4 separate regions of the Homo sapiens genome follow, and all the other regions are linked to region 2. Evidence: promoter capture Hi-C in 16 types of primary human blood cells and fetal thymus (Javierre and others, 2016). All regions are on one chromosome and are shown on one strand. The core of a region is centred on a gene start or on the middle of the fragment in contact, and the rest is flanking DNA. Distances in the headings are between cores, read along the strand shown. Region 1 has its middle 280 kb from the start of G2E3. Region 2 holds the start of LINC01551 (long intergenic non-protein coding RNA 1551). Region 3 has its middle 300 kb from the start of G2E3. Region 4 has its middle 290 kb from the start of PRKD1.

Region 1 (2,949 bases), core at 42-2,541, 1.5 Mb after region 2:
TACCTTGGATCACAGACAGAAGTATACTGGAATGAGTTTCATAATATTGTCCTGGTTGTCCTCTTAACCCTTAGACCTATTCTGAATGTCACTCTTCTGCAAACTGAAGATACTAGCACTAGTTTCTTCTACCTCTCTGTGAGAACCATGTGAGTAAATATAAAAAGTACTTTGGAAAATGCAACAACTTAGGCAAATATAAAGAATTATTATTTATCCCTACTAAACTTTTTAAAGCTTTTCTCATGTGTTCATAATATTGTTGAAGAAATCAACTCCTTCCCACCCTTTATGTGTATAATTGATGATTCTGTATTATTAATATAGAAATATTTTTTAAATTTTCAATCTAGACAAAAGAAGATTTCCACTAAAACCAAGGCTGCTTACTTTTCATTAAAAACTAGAATTCAGACTCAACATTTAAAGATTTTCTACATTTTTTTTTAATTTAAGACAGAGTCTCACACTGTCACTTGGGCTGGAGTGCAATGGCGTGTTCTCGGCTCACTGCAACCCCTGCCTCCCAGGTTCAAGCGATTCTCCTGCCTCAGCCTCCCGATTTGCTGGAATTACAGGCACGCACCACCATGCCCAGCTAATTCTTGTATTTTTAGTAGAGACAGGGTTTCACCATGTTGGCCAGGATGGTCTTGATCTCTTGACCTCGTGATCTACCCACCTTGGCCTCCCAAAGTGCTGGGATTACAGGTGTGAGCCACTGGCACCCGGCCTTCTACATATTTTTAAGTGAAGATTTTAACCTAAATCAGAAAAAATATTTTGAAATTATTCACAAGTTAATTTTTTCTTAAATATTTTTAAACTTGTATGGTTGCTACAAATATGTCAGTTTAAATCTCTGCCCTTCAGTTTTCATCATTTGTTAATTGAGGGAGCTAAAAAGCATGACTTATAAAATCCTTTACAATGACAAAATTCATAATTTTCAGAGTCTACGAAAGTAAGATTTTTAAGCTGATGTAAAATTTTTCTGAAGACTAATTCAAGTAGCTGTCTGATTTATGATAATGCCTATTTCAAATATTATTTTTGAATTCTCTGTTAAATGATATTTTTTAACTTTTTAAAAAACGAGTACAATTTTTTCCTTTGAAATTAAATAGATTACTTGGTTTCCAACATTTAATTATGTCTATCATCAGAAAAACTTTTCGCTTAATGGAATTATTTAAACAATATTATATTAATGGAAAACATTATTCTCAGGACTAATTAGGTGCCTTTGATGTGAACTCCTTTGCATTCACTGTATGCATGACATACTACTGTCTTATAGTGCAATGAATAGCAGAGCAATGATGATTCAATAAATGTAGATCCATTTTGCATATTTGCATAACTTAAGAAATACCAACATCATTTTCTGAGAAGCCTTCCCTGATTTTCAGCCTAGATCCAATTTCTCTGACATATGTTCACAAAGCTGCATACTTTTCCTTCACAGTATTAAGTATCTAATATCACATTTCTTTGTTAATAATTATTAATGTCGATCTACCCACTAGAGTGCCATTGCTTTCCTAGTGTTACATGAATAAATGAATCAGTGAAGTCATGCGTCATTACTAGAGTATGTTTCTACTCCATTCCATTTATTTATTTATTTATTTATTTATTTATTTATTTATTTATTTATTTTGAGACAGAATCTTGCTCTGTCGCCCAGGCTGAAGTGCAGTGGCATGATCTCCGCTCACTGCAAGCCCCGCCTCCCGGGTTCAAGTGATTCTCCTGCCTCAGCCTCCCGAGTAGCTGGGACTACAGGCACACACCACCACGCCTGGCTGATTTTTTGTATTTTTACTGGAGACGGGGTTTCACCGTGTTAGCCAGGATGGTCTTGATCTCCTGACCTGGTGATCCGCCCGCCTCGGCCTCCCAAAGTGCTGGGATTACAGGCGTGAGCCACCACACCCAGCCTATTTTCTTTTTGTATTCAACAATAATGAAAACCTATAAGCCCCTCAATAATGGAAGCTAAATCTTATTTCTCTTTGGGCCCAACACAGTGCCGGGCTCTTAAAACTCAGGAACATGGCTTTAGCTGAAAAGTCTGTGTCAGAGCCCGAAGCCCTTTAAGGTTGAGCGGCGTCAACCAGGAAGTCTTTAGCCACTGCCACAAAAGGGCTCATCTGGCCTCCAGATTTGACAAGAGTTTTCACTTCTACTTATGTCCAACTTCCTTCCTTTTTCTTGATTTCTAGGATCCAGCCCAGCTTGGTTTGGACTTTTTCGGTAACATCTATCCCCAGACTCTGGTTCCTCTCTCACTGGGCCCTACCTCTTGACTAGTTAGGCACCTTTCCTTGAAGAAGCATTTCTCAAGCTTCCTGGGCTTTAGCTCTCTGCTGCCCCCATTAGGCAGTAATCATTGCCAGAGTAACTCCTAGAGAAATCTGCCTGCTCAAACTTAAGTAGCTATTCTGATTTGTCTCAAGATAAGGTCCCAATGCTTTCAACTTGTTTATGTATAAAAATTATATGTAACCCAAATTCTCCATTTCATTTTTAAAATCATTTAAAGCAGAATACTAAGTGTTAGAAGGAGACCCACTGTGACTTTGTGCCCACTGAATAGGCTAGATTTACAAGGCAAGCACTGAAGATAGTTATTTCTGGCTGAGGCTACTTTTGCAATCCAAGTAATGACATGAAGGCAATAGTTGAGATGATGTATGTCCATCGACACATTTGCTTGTCATCCTAACAACAGTCATAAAAATTAAAATGCACACTTTAATATTGAACACAGTTTATTTGTCTGAAAAAATTCTTTATTAACATAACAGAACCCATATTATTGAAACACAAGTTACATACGTTGTGCATTACCACTTAAAGTAAATCAAGGAATAACAAAAAATTAACCACTGGACAACTGAGTTGGTTAGAGGAGAGAGAGTGAGGAGTTACTTTTTATTTTTT
Region 2 (2,776 bases), core at 165-2,664:
TAGTAATAAAGTCCAAGTGAATGGTTTTATGCAAAGGAAATCCCCATTACACATTTTGAACCAAAATAGCTCAAAGAGAGACATGTGTCCAAGCTGAAAAAAAGGTGATGATTTATTGTTTGCTTTTGCCATGGATTTTATTTGTGGAATAAGAATGTATTATCACAGGGGAAACATAGAATTTTGCTTACCAAACGTTAAAAAGAAAGTTGAACTCTTGTGCTAAGGTAAAGGGGTATAGATATAGAAGAAAGTTTTCCTGCATGAGTATTTTTTTTGGCCACATTAAATAAGTATACTTATTTGTATTTATAAGTGTTTATTTGGGTGACAGATAAATAGAATTTTAATGGCAAACATCATACTTTGAAGTCAAGAGTAAAACTGATTTCTTTGAATTCATAGAAACGAAGTATTGGAGTGGGAGTTCTGCTTGGACCCATGTCCAAATTACATATAATGGATATGACTAGAAGTTTGTTAGGTGTACTAGACACGAAGGTGGATATATGGAGAGAGAACTTTGTAAAGGCTTCCTGAAGCCCAATATGAACATCTCATTTCCCTTGATCTATCTTATCATCCCTCAACTTATCTTCTCAAAAAACACATGACAGTCTGGCATGGCATATAATACATTTTTGCATCGAACGGGTTGTAATGTTGTGTTATTTGTTGTCTCCAACTTTGACCGTTAAAATTAGTTTATGTCAGAAATACACTTCAAAACTTTTGAGGATTATTTTCTTTCATATTATAATTGTTTTTAATAAGATGAAGGTTGTCCTTTGTGAAATTTTGGAACTGAAACTGATCACAACTTAAAACTTGAAATCCCAAATTAAAGTTTATTTCCAGGTTTAAAGTATTTTACTTGAATTTGTCTGTTGTAAAGTTAACAAAAAATATTAATATGTAAAACACTGAGAAAATGATGTAATTGAACTAGAGGAGTTAAAGTATTATTTCAAATATGTTTCTTCAGCCTGTTACAAAATTGGGAACCAAGTGAACATGAAGTCTAGAACTAACAAGGTTTAATACAAATATCCTTATGGTCATGGAAGCCTTCATGTAGTTTATGTGACTTGCATAAAATCAAAGGCAGAGAGGCAAAAATTTAGTCTCATAGTGTATTGATTTTAATATATATTTAAGTTGGTGCATATTTCACCCAAATACGTGGATAAATTCAATATATTTAGAAGTCTATAGAAGTGTAGTTTTTTAAAAAGTGTATTTTCTACAACATTGTTGAGGAATTTGCATGCACTGGGAAAATTTTGGTTTTGAGAAATTAATTTTATGAACAGCTAAAGTGGTTGGTTGTGTTTGAGACTAAAAGCCTGTTGGAGAATTAGACTAACAAAGGGTGAAGGTGAAGATCATTAGAGGTTTTAGAACTGGCTGAGATGGGTTGCTGGGGTTGTGTAACTGTGCCTAGAGGGCGGGGTTCCTGTACATTCCTACTTCACCAGATAACCTGCCCCCAACACCACTTCAGCTTCTGCCAGACAGATGGAACTCTCCAGCATGAAAATCTGCGCAGCCATTCCAACAAGCAGGGTAGGTGAAACTTGAATTAAAATTCTCCCCTCTTTATTTTTCTACTTAAGTCCAGATCCTGGAGATATGGAAAGAATAGAGGTCATCTAGATTCTCTCTTTTGGGCACACACGTCTGCATTCTTCCTAAGAGCTACCTACCTGTAAGAGTTAAAAGGTGCTAGAGATCTTTCCCAGTTAGTACTTCATGCTAGATTTTCTTTTGCGTGCATTTTTTTTTTTTTTTTAAGATTTCTTTTCTCTATACCAATCATTCCCCTTTTCTATTCTCCCTTCAGGGCCCTTTCCCCTCAATCACTAGCAGTTAAAATAACCCACCTCAGATTTTGGCTCCCAAAGGCACCCATTCCCCACCCTAGCGGTCAGTTCTAGGGACCTTATCCTGAGGATGTAGGCCAAGGGGGCTCCAGGCTGGCAAATAGATGATGTATTGTTATGTTTTGTGCCTCTTGTCTCCCTCCCGATTTCTACTGTGTTTTGTTTTTGTTTTTCCCCACCACCTAAGGCTCTGCCTGAGGTTGTCCGAAGGATGCCGAGGAAAAGGATATCAGGACTGGAATGGCTCTTACAGCAAGATCCGTAAGTGAAAGTGCTTTTCAGAGGGGAAGGGGTAGGGTAGGGAATATGTGTAACTGACTGCTTTGGACTGAGTTTTAACGCCTGACTTTGGGGTCCTGGCCTTAAGTGTTCATCTTTTCTTAGAAAATGTTAGCAGGCTCGCTACCAACAGACGTAGCTGAAAGGATGCATAATTTTTTTCCACGTTGACAGAAATCACGGTGAATCCCCAGGTCAAAAGGATGTAGACACGGCAAAGGAACATGGAGAGAAAACGAGAAAAAATTATACGGAGAAGGGGTAGTGGGAGACTGAAATAGGTCCTAAAGTGTAAATTAATTCATTTCGTGGAAATATGATTTCTGAGTCTTATGGTTGCTACAGGAACTTCCGGGACGTTCTTAACGCTCAAAGACAGGTTTATTAGCTATCCTTATTTCAGTTAAAGCTCTTTGCTCCAGAGCCAAGAACCTGCTTCTCTCTAAAGTTCTTCTTTGGATCGCCCTTCTCTATTTGCACACTAACATAGCCAACCTTCCCCAGAGCTGGCCCTCCGCCCCCAGCTCCTTGGCCTGGGTCACACCAGGGTCCCGGTCGGATTTAGCCGGGCTGCTCCGGGTCGGGTGAGGCACTGGGTGCGTGTGGGAGTCTTC
Region 3 (2,712 bases), core at 74-2,573, 1.5 Mb after region 2:
GTGGCTGTAAGTGATTATATGCATCTCGATGTAACGCCATAGCACAAATTCATCATTTTGAATGTCTGTCTATATACTGTGGCTTTAACCAAGTTCTAGGTACAAGCTGATCTTTTTGCAGTATTTTTAATAACTCCTACTTAACATAATGATTTTGAACATCTATTCTTTTAAAGTTATTTTTGTTAGTTTTTCCCTTGAGATCTCTGCTTTCTTTTAAAAATATCATGTTGTATTTTAAAAAGTCACTTTTTCTCTCTCTTCCCAAAACTACCATCATTTTTTTTAAAAAGTCAGCTTTAAATGGCTAGTGCCATCCTTCTTTTGTCAGTTACTTTGACCAAGTACTGTGACCTGGATTGAATAATTGGAACTTGCTGGTAGAATGGTACCTGAGTGTGTTTATCCCAGAAAGAAATTCCAAATGCACTGGGGATAGAAATAAACCAAGGAGTTTGGATGGAGATGATAAAGAATATGAAAAACTCAACTGAGAATTTCATGCAACCTCTCTAAAACTGAGAGATTATGGGTATATGAGCCATATTTCCAAAGCTGATGACCAAATGATCTTTAAATATATTACATTTTATTACTAAAAAAGTAAGTTTATAAAATACAAATTGAAATAACACTAAGATAATTTTTTGCCTATTATATTGGTGGAAAAAGATGAAGCTACAAAGTGTTGGCAAGAGTGCGGAGAAACTAGTACTCTTACTTACTACCATTGGGGATAATCATTGGCAAAAATATTTTTCAGGGCCATTAAAAAATACTTGAATAAGTTTAAATATTGCACATCCTTTGACCCAGCAATTTTATCTTTATAAATGTATCCTGCACATATACTAACACAAGTATACAAAAATGTGTGCACAAAAATGTTTGCTGAGTGAATGCCGAGCTCTAATTCTGAAATCAGACAGACTTGAGTTGAAATCACAGCTCCACTACCTTCTGGATATGTGACCTTGGACAAGTTACATAGCATTTCAGTGTCCTCATCTGCCCGATTATTTTGAAAATTAAATGAAATGATGCCTACAAAGTCTATAATAAAGTTCCTGGCACTTAGTATTAATAAATACTTAGTGAGTATTTATTACTCTTTGCAATGATGATAATATTACTACAGATATCATCCTGTATTATTTATAATAGCAAAATACCTGAAAACAAGTCAGCTATCTGTTAAGTGGAGAATTGACTATATCACCTTAGGTCCATTCAGTGGAATACAACATAGTCATTAAAAAGAATGAGATGAATCTACATGGAAAGGGTCAAAATATACTATGAAAAAGTCAAATTTCAGTATTAACTATACTATTCCATATGTGTGAAAAGACACGATAATACATTTTACTACTATATGGAGGGACGGAAGGAGGGAAGAAGGGACGGAGAGAGAGAGAGAGAATACAAAGCAAAATATTAATAAGAATTATCTTTGGGAAGTGGGATAATTGGGCACTTGAATTTTTTCTCTATCATGAACTTTTGTAATATTTTCATTTTTCACCATGCACTTGTATTACTTTTAAAATTAATAGAAGTATTATTTTTGAAAGAGTAAAAGTAAATTCAATATGTGATGCAATCTTTCACATTGAATTCTTAAATCAAATAAAAGAAAATAAGATGTGTATTTTTGCCAACTCCTAGCAAAAACAGCTGTCTCAAGAGGAAATGTTCTAGTATAAAAGGGAGCTTTGTTTTCTTCCTTCTGCCTTAGTTCAGGCCTGCTTGCCTGTTTCACAGTATTGAATATGCAGTGCATGGACAGGAAAGCTCAGGAATAAGAGACCTATATAAAACACCTAGGGATATTTTTAAACAATTCAATATGAATAGAGTGAGCTAATTTATTAAGCCAACTATCTATTTTCTAATTTCCTGTTATGTAGATAAAGGATTATCCAAATTATTTTCATCCTTGGATTCTCACAACCTAGTTTATAGAACGTATTCAGTAAATATTTGTTGAATGAATGAGTAAAGACTGGCTGTCACTTAATACATTTCTTTTAGCTTCCTAGTAGCTGGACTTACACATCTTCCATTGCTAAAGCCAGTCAGCAGAGACCTGGGGCAGGCAGGGTGAAAATAAATGAAACCAGAAGGATTTTCTGGAAAACCATGAGAGAGATCAGAGAATCAGGGAAACTCGGAGCTAGAAGACAACTGCAGAACTATCCATTCTGACACCTAATTCTGTGAGGAAACTGAGTCCCAGAGAAGGTGGTCAGAGTGCTGGTTAGAGGCAGAGTAAGGACATAAGCCCAAGTCTTATACTCCTACTTAAGTTTTCCTTCCTAACCAGGTTGTTATTCCCCACAAAAGAGTGCTATTGCTTAGATAAATTGGCATGGAATCTTCCTTTCATATGGAGGAGAAGGCAGTGGTGATGAGAGGGGAAAGGTTTACTAGCAAAGCTATATCCAATTACAAATTTACTTCTTTTTAACTTATATTGTTGTTTTCTCCCAGCAAATATTTTCAATGTAAATAATAGATACATGGAGCATCTCAAGTTTACCATTATTGTGTCCCTTTAAAGATATTTCTATCTTCCAACCTTTCTTCAAATACCATGATCAAAAATTAGCATAAATCAGAACTGTTTGATGTCTTTATGTTAACTTTGCCTAGGAAAAAAATGGAAAAGTATGGCAGAATACTTTCTCAAACTATAAACTAGACAAGAAT
Region 4 (2,839 bases), core at 43-2,542, 1.4 Mb after region 2:
GAATCAAACCTATGCCCTTAGTGTCTCAGGTAGCAGTTGCTCTAACCAAGGAAGTGAATCAATCCAGACTAAAGAGAAAAGATGATAGTATATACTGAGCCTAGTCCTATAGGCTACAATGTGTGCAGGCTTCATAGGCCCACTTTCTAAATGATGAGTAAGAAAATGGGGAGGCATTATTTGCCTCTTTAAGAAAAGCACATATAATGAGCTCACACTTTCACCTTCCACCCATCAAAACAGTGAGTCAGAGAATCACAGAATGCTGCTTTCTTCCAAAGTCCCTTGTATCCAGACTTTCAGACATATCGTACCCCTCACTTCCCTAAATTTTCACCTCTATGGAATGCACACAGACATATGGGTAAATCAACAACAACCCTCAAGGAAGCTATAACCACCCAGCGTGTACATTTTGCAACTCTTTCAACTCGCTTCCCATCCTGCCCATCCCCTACACAAATCAGGTTTGAATGCCCAGGCTTGTCACCTGGTATACAAAAATGCAGTCTAACACTGTATTTATTAGCAACCCTTTTCCCTTATGTTTAATTTATTGTTACATTTTTTAAATGTACAAACAGTTATACCAGTTTTATACACAAAACCACAGGTACCGTTTTGTATCTGTCAAAATTCCAGCAGCCTGTGGAGAGAGACAGTTGAATAGATGTCCTATGCTGCCATCTAGTGCTTTTGTCAAGACACGGACTTGTTCATTTTTCTGGAAATGAGGAAACAAAGGCAGCTCAAGGCACCCAAATTCTGGAAGAGCTACTGATATGCATTATTAAACAGATGCATTTATGACACTTGGACCACATTCCCTGGAACCAAGCAACTTAACTTGTTTTCACACAATGGCAGCTTACACCCCTGCTCTTGACTGGCAAAGCTCTGGCCTACCCTGGAGGCACCTGGTTTAAATCCAAACTGACTGGGCAAGCAAAATGCCCCTCTGAGCCCCTTTCTACAGCTCCCATCTGGCCAAGGTTCTCTTGGCATGTCTCTTCCTCCAGGAGGGACAGTTTTATCTGAATGACTTGCCTATTACTTCAATTCTGATAGAAGGCACAAAGGAGTCAGATGGCTTAAAAAAATCATTATCTTTAAAATTGACTAAAACAGCAGCCATTTTCCTTATAGTGGCCAAAAGTGAAGCTTCTGAATTTGTCTTGCTCCTCAGCTCACGGGATTTGTGTCACTCGTTAGATCCCAGATCCTTTTCTGAATCCCCCCCTTTATCTTTTCTTGGATCTCAAAAGTACCTTTCTTCTCCTCAATTAATCAATCAGCACATCTCTGTGTTGCACACACGCTATGCTAAAAGCACTATATCAGACACCGGTTAGTGGGTGGATAAATCAAATGAAAATAACCTTTCCATCTGCGTCTCTGATCACTTCCTGCCTCTGGCCTCAAAGAAGCTTCACCATCCGCCTCCTTGCTACTCTTTAACCCTTTCCTCTTTCATGCTTCTTTTTCTTTTCCTTTAACTATACACAAACCTCTCTTCTAGTTAAAATAAATATAAGAACTTTACTTGAACCCTCCACACTTTCCTGCTACCAGCAAATTTCTTCCTTCCGTGGTTGTATCTTTTTGTATTTTTATCTCAATGAAATGGAGAATTCACTAACCCAATATGCTAATCTCCCAATATAGAATCAACCGCCTAACAAATTAGACGGTGTCCTTCCAACAAGACAGAGTGAGTATCTGTTAGGGCTGCAGCTCCTGAACGTGACTCCTGAAATGGAGAGGAGGTTATCATAGATGACCTCTGAGTTCCTCTGATTTCGATTCTGTCCTTTCTAAACTTTATTTTATTATAGTCTCTACTTCTGCAGCCACTCCCTACTTAACCATGCCTGTAAACTCATGACTTTCTCAAAAGGAAGTTAGCCTCTCTAGATGATCAGATTCCATTCCCCCTTCTTGAATTCATTGCTTCGTCATGACACCCTGATTACAACCCTTTCTTGAAGCACTCTCTATTCTATTCGCCAATTCTATTTATCAAATACCTCATTGTTTCCAATGGTTTTACTGATTTCTTCTCTTCCCTTATTGAGGACTATATCTAAACTTGGATTTTGTCCATATCTATGTCTGTGACTTTACAAACACATTTACTCACTCCCACTGTATCTTCACACAATGCTTCATGATGACAGTGATGGTGATCATGATAATTTGATCACATAATTCCACTTCCACAAAGGTCTTAAATCTTCCATTTCTACTGTGATTTTTCAAACTCTTTCCAAGCCCATACCATCATTTATCCGCATAGCAGAATAGTTCTTCTTGGTTGTCCCATCAACACTATAATAGTAAACTTTGGATTCATGATTCTCACCCTCAAAATGGCATACTTCCCAAGTTTGTCCATTACTATCAATGGCAACACCATGGCCAATCTTCAGCTAAGCTGAGTATCTTAGATTCGTTTTGGAGTTATCCTTCTTTAACTCCTGATATTTAATCTTTCCCCAAGACTTGCAAATTCCTTCTTCTTTATTTCATTCAAATATGCATCTTTATTTCCACTTCAGCAACCAGTTTACGATGAGGTTAAATCCTCATTGCCTTATGCCTGGGTTGCAGAGAAACTTCTAGGGCAGCTCTCCTAGCTTCCAGTTCCACTCCTGTACCAGTTCCTCTTACAAAGAAGTTTGGGTAGTCTTTCAACCAGTTTGCTGTCACGTAGCTTACCTGTTAAAAGTCATAATAGCTTCTTATTGCCTCTCAATATCACATCCATTTCTGTAGCCACACACATTCAAGGCCCTTCTCCAACTACATTTCATTTTCTTTCACTCGCTCCCTGAACGTG

Evidence for each region. The method cuts DNA at HindIII sites, captures the fragments that hold promoters and counts their contacts. A CHiCAGO score of 5 or more calls a contact.
Region 1: a fragment that was not itself captured here is called in contact with the fragment with the promoter of LINC01551 in region 2 in 2 of 17 cell types (M2 macrophages and endothelial precursors); the score reaches 8.4 in M2 macrophages.
Region 3: a fragment that was not itself captured here is called in contact with the fragment with the promoter of LINC01551 in region 2 in 1 of 17 cell types (M2 macrophages); the score reaches 5.9 in M2 macrophages.
Region 4: a fragment that was not itself captured here is called in contact with the fragment with the promoter of LINC01551 in region 2 in 3 of 17 cell types (M2 macrophages, endothelial precursors and M0 macrophages); the score reaches 12.8 in M2 macrophages.

What each region holds. Positions count from the first base shown.
Region 1 is chr14:30,281,651-30,284,599 of GRCh38, forward strand. No RefSeq gene overlaps it. Among named protein-coding and RNA genes, the nearest start is that of G2E3, 280 kb to the right of the region's middle. The HindIII fragment of the contact is 2,113 bases long and covers 236-2,348 here.
Region 2 is chr14:28,771,290-28,774,065 of GRCh38, forward strand. It overlaps LINC01551 (long intergenic non-protein coding RNA 1551), which reads left to right and starts at 1,415. Exons shown (of 3, transcript NR_026731.1): 1 at 1,415-1,566; 2 at 2,071-2,144. The HindIII fragment of the contact is 5,790 bases long and covers 1-2,776 here.
Region 3 is chr14:30,262,633-30,265,344 of GRCh38, forward strand. No RefSeq gene overlaps it. Among named protein-coding and RNA genes, the nearest start is that of G2E3, 300 kb to the right of the region's middle. The HindIII fragment of the contact is 3,914 bases long and covers 1-2,712 here.
Region 4 is chr14:30,213,972-30,216,810 of GRCh38, forward strand. No RefSeq gene overlaps it. Among named protein-coding and RNA genes, the nearest start is that of PRKD1, 290 kb to the left of the region's middle. The HindIII fragment of the contact is 266 bases long and covers 1,160-1,425 here.